Linked DNA regions of Homo sapiens: region 2 is linked to region 1. The links are contacts of gene promoters, found by promoter capture Hi-C in human tissues and cell types (Jung and others, 2019). All regions are on one chromosome and are shown on one strand. Each heading gives the region's core, a stretch centred on a gene start or on the middle of the fragment in contact. The rest is flanking DNA. Distances are from core to core; before and after follow the strand shown.

Region 1 (2,700 bases), core at 105-2,604:
TGCATGTCTTCCTCAACAGCCAGCATGCCCTCATCGTGAGCGAGCAACCCCTTTCCGACAGTTAACATTACAATGTATCTTTTTAATTTTTTTTCTCAAGGACAGAAGAAAAAAATATTTAACAGAAATCAGTCTACTATTCTACCACTTGCTGAAACTAACAGTTCCCTTTACATAAATATACAATTTCTCCAACCAAATATCATATTTTATATTTACTCTCACTTCATGTTAATTTTTATAAAGGTTAAAAAAACAAATACTTTGTGATGATTTGCCACCCCAGCGGCACAAAATTTTCTGGTGCAAAATCGATTTGATCTTATTAATTAATATTGTCATTATTATTTATTTTTCACCAACTTGCTTAAGAGGTACATACTTTCTTTCTTAAGGTAGTGTTTTGACAGAGAGAACCTTAATGCTGAACTTTAGAAAAGAGAAACCAAAAATGTCATAAAATTTGCCAGGGCTAGACACACAAACGGGGTGCCCCCACACATTCATAGGTTTGGGCAAGCCCCCAAACCTTGGCTTACCCAGGAAGCCAAACCCAGACAGCCGTCTTGCAATTGCAAACACTGCCCCCCTGGAGCAAAAGGTAAATACACAAATGCTCCCCTAAGGAACTTTAAGTTAGCTGCAGTGCAAGAAAGGAAAAAGGTCCGTGCTATTAGAAACTGAAAGCAATCACTTACTTTTTGCAGCCACTGAGTATAATTTTCCATCACATGTTCCAGATGTTGAAGTTTCTGGGAAGAGAAATCCGGTTCCACGTGTGGAGCATCTCTCTGCAGAGCGTTTGTGTTGTACTGGTCTGTCGTACTCTCACGACAGTTGCCATCGTGTTCTGGAAGAATGAAAGTGTAGGCACATTGCCCATGTTGAATCCGGTTATATCTTCTCCCACTGTTTTCTGGACTTCGGCGCTGATTGCTGCACCCTATGTGAGTCAGAATGGCAGCGAGGAAAGCAAAGGAAAGGAAAACTGTCATTGTACTGCCAGCACACTCCTTCCGTGCCTCTCGCAAAACTTGCTCCTTTCTTCTGACCTCTAAAACTAGTTCTTTATTTCAGGTAAAACTGCTTGTTTGTTTGACTCTTTCCCCCTCAAAGAAAGCGTTTGAAGAAGAATCATAGAAAACTAGCCATTTGTTAGCTTTGTTCTAAAATTTTAAAATTTTTTATTTCACTGCAATGATGTTTTTCTTCGTTAAAACTTGAGATATTTATTGCATAGTAGCTGAGATTTATTGTTTCCTCTCTGTGTGACCGTTCAGCATGGAGCCTGCCTGAGTCAGCTGCGTGTACATATTCTAGACCCTTTCCTCTACCCTATCTGCTGCAGATCTGCTATTTTCTCCCAGACCTCAGTGAGTTTTATTAAGGTTGCACATCCAAGCCAAGCTGGAAGCAGGCAGCCTTTCACAAGATGACTTGACAGGAATGCATGAGTGTGCCCCTATACTAAGGATTGCTGATGGCTTAGGGCGGCGGGATCGTCTTACAAATTGGCTAGATGCGCATGACCTCGATCATGTATGGCCCTCCCGCCCCTTTCCACAGACAATTGCCTTGAGCCTTTAGCAGATTCATGGCAAATCAATAAATAGAGCAGTCCACCTTAATACACTTTTGGTGTGCATGCTGACCTACTAAAATATAGCAAACTAGCAGTATGTTTTTAAAGTTACTATTTAGTCGAGGGACCCTAAGAAGAAAATTGGCATAATGTCCAATGGAATTATTTTTGATAGAGAATGATAAACCCATATCATTATTAAATGTCTTTAAAAAACATGTATTCTTGACTCTGAGGAAAAATATGTTAAAAAACAGTTTTTACAGATGGTATTCTTTCATTGTATTCACTTAGACTTTTAGGAGTTGAAGAAAATAATCAGAGAGGATCAAATTAGCAAGAAAATTAGCATCATTTGTTGCTCAAAGCAATATGTTGCACAAAGCAATATAGTATGTGCATATTAAAGAGGGTTATCTAAGTACCTTTTGGTATAGGGTTCTTAAATGAAACTGGTGTCCTGATCAGAATGCAACCCTTCATGTTCTGTGTATATAAATTGAGCAACTTCCCTACAAAAACAATGTGGCTACAATTTAAAGCAGTGGCTTGAGAATTATTAATTCCTGTGGTATATCCTAATCCTGTATTTTACAAGGATCTCTTTGGTGGCTATGGCTGTCTTTAACACTGGTGTGGAAGTTCCACATAAAAACCTCCTGTGGCTGCACAGACATACTATGTGAGAACAAGCATATATCAGGTGTGCTAACAGCCAGCAATGGGCTGTACAGGAGACATCTCTGTGCTTCTGTGAAGGAAGAAAGAAAAATTATCAGAAGATGATTTCCCACAGGCAGCGTATAAACATTTGAACAAAGGGACCCATAAACATAAACAGGCAATAATTGTAGAATTTAGGGAACGGCTTTGAGATCTTTACTAGATGCAGAAAACCTGAATTATGAGTTGGGATTTTCATTAGGAACTGGGAGGGCTTTTAGACAACTGCAGTCATGGTGTGAAAACAGAAGCCACAGCTGTCATCTCCCATGTCTTGGAAGGAGAACAGGGCAGTGGGTGAAGGTCCGTAGTGGTTAGAGATGGGCATTTAGGGAGAAGTTAGAGGAGAGGTCAAAACAAATTCCAGAACAAATGCGATTTACTTGGGGAAAGAA
Region 2 (2,700 bases), core at 190-2,689, 810 kb before region 1:
GCATTTGCTAATCTCATATTCTTTTTAAAAGAATTACATTGACAAATTGGTATTGCTATAGATACTGAGTTCAGACTTTCAGGTAACCTCAGAGATCATATATTGTTCAAAAAGGCATATCTTCATTTAAGGAAAGCATATGACAATGTGCACATATATATACATATATATATATATATATATATACACACACATATATTTATATTTGTGTGTGACTAATGCGGTTAACTCAGTTTTGGGGGAATTGAGGAATCACAAAATTTGTTGATAGCTTTTTGCCAGTTTGCAGGGGACCCTCTTATAGCTCTGCATCAGCTATTTTTTTCTTAGCATATTTTTGAGTTGTTTGGTAGAAGATTTGAAAGGGAAGCGATACAATATTACAGTTAAGCTCACTGGTTTGTGTGTTGATAACATAGGTTTGCATCTTAGCTCCTTACTCATTTGTCAAGTTATTGAACTTGGCTAAGCTTAAGTTCAACAAAAAAAAACCAAGAAGCGTATATATGTGTGTGTGTGTCTATATATATACACACACACACACACACATATATATATACACATATATATATAACTATACCTCTAGTTTGTTTTTAAAAAATGTTTTAATACCATGTTGTTTCCATTTGTTTTTCCTTATAATTCTCTATTTTATTTTGACCATTCCAAAACATTCTGAGAAGCTGGTTCATAGGCTTCACTGTAAGAATGGTCAGTAGCACCAAAAAAGTTAAGAAACTTGTGATCTAGTGGAATGGGATTTATCAACTGTAGCTCGAGATTTAAAAGGCTATTCCAGTGAATGGGTTCTGCTGTATGCTTAGGTACTAAGGTAAGCTTTCCACCTTTTTACTGCTCCCAGCACCTGATGGATATTATATTATATGGTCTTATCAGAGTCAGTGGTTTAATTCAGGAGCATCTGAGTGTGTGTGCACGTGTGTGTATGTGTTGGGTGTGGGTACAAGAGATGTAGTGTTCACTGTTCTCCAGATTATTTTATTTTTTAAATTTATAGATATGTGTATCTCCCTATTAAAAATCACTATAAATGTAAGTTTAACCTGTGTTTGTGATCTTTATTGAATATGAAAATAGTGCCACTTTTGTCCTATAATTTGTACGTAAAAATATTTCGGGCTGACTTCCAGAATGCGGTGAAATGAAACAACACTTATTGGGGAAAGCTATTCATTTGACTTTTTAATAGTGTGCTCATTTTTATTTTGTTTTCTGCTTTTTTTTTTCTTTCCTTTAAAAAAAAAAAAAAGAATCCTGATGTCCATCCAACAGAAGCAACTCCCTCATCTACTTTCACTGGTATTCGACCTGCACGAGTTGTATCTTCAACTTCTGAGGAGGAGGAAGCATTTACTGAGAAATTTCTTAAAATTAATTGCAAATATATTACCAGTGGCAAGGTAAAGAATGACACTTTAGAGAAGACCTTTAATCATGCTTTAGTTATTACTAATGTATGATAGTTTGGCATTTACATTTTAAGTCATCAATGTCAGAAAATGCTTGAATATTATAGAAAGGTACTAGTGATACTATTATTTTGGGTTAGTATGGATGTTGCTTATAACTTAGAGTCTGGTGATCTGTTGTAATTGTTAAAAGTAATGGAATATAAATAAATTCACTAAGGCACAGCTAAGTTGCTGTTGGTAGGATATTTCAAAAGTGTGAATAAAATGACTGCTGCCAGGTACTGTGTGGAGTGTGAACTTCTGTATAACTAGTATAGCACACAAATAGGAAGATATCTAGTATTTATTGAGTACCTTCTATATGCCAGAGAGTATTTGAGGTATCTTAATTATTTTATCAATTCAAAACAATCTTGTGAAATAGGCAGTCATATTTCTTTTCCACAGGGAAAAACAAAACAGGAAGGGTTCATAGGAAAGGTTAATAGGTCCAAGATCTCTCTATAATGGCCAGAATTCAAACCTAGTCAGAATCTTTTTTTTTTTTTTTTTTTTTTGAGATGAAGTTTCGCTCTTATCAGCCAGGCTGGAGTGCAATGGCGTGATCTCGGCTCACTGCAACCTCTGCCTCCTGGGTTCAAGCAATTCTCCTGCCTGAGCCTCCTGAGTAGCTGGGATTATAGGCACTCGCCACCACATCTGGCTAACTTTTTGTATTTTTAGTAGAGACAGGGTTTCACCATGTTGGTCAGGCTGGTCTTAAACTCCTAACCTCAGGTGATCCACTTGCCTCGGCCTCCCAAAGTGCTGGGATTACAGGTGTGAGCCACCGCACCCAGCCCAGAATCTATTTTGTCTGCTTCACTTTGTTGCTTTTCTAAGCAAAAACTTCTAATCTGAAAAGAGAATATAGTAAAGTAATAGAGTTGGAAAATAAACTCCAGATTTTGCTCAAAAAATGTCTATAACATGATACTGCCTTTAGAATTCACACATGAGAACTATTTCTTTGAAGTATAATTCATAAATTTATGAGTATTTGAAACACATAATAAGCATTTAGTGGTATGCATTTTGCCCTAAATATTGTTTTAAATGTTGTGTTTTCATTTTCATTTACTTTAAAATATTTTCTCTTGATTTCTTCTTTGACCCATTTGAGAGTGTTTTATTTTTCTAGATAACTGTCTTTTACTAATTTCTAATTCGATTCTGTGTGATCAGAGAACACACTACTATTTGAAGGCTTTATTTAGACCTGTTTTAT

The links. Contacts are between HindIII fragments. The study calls those that stand out against the background at their distance.
Region 2: a contact is called between a fragment that was not itself captured here and the fragment with the promoter of ANGPT1 in region 1, in 1 of the 25 tissues and cell types used here (IMR-90 fibroblasts).

What each region holds. Positions count from the first base shown.
Region 1 is chr8:107,496,564-107,499,263 of GRCh38, forward strand. ANGPT1 (angiopoietin 1) reads right to left here and starts at 1,355. Exons shown (of 9, transcript NM_001146.5): 1 at 699-1,355. The coding sequence starts at 995. The HindIII fragment of the contact is 10,393 bases long and covers 1-2,700 here.
Region 2 is chr8:106,691,457-106,694,156 of GRCh38, forward strand. It overlaps OXR1 (oxidation resistance 1), which reads left to right. Exons shown (of 17, transcript NM_001198533.2): 7 at 1,272-1,421. Among named protein-coding and RNA genes, the nearest start is that of OXR1-AS1, 35 kb to the left of the region's middle. The HindIII fragment of the contact is 5,852 bases long and covers 1-2,700 here.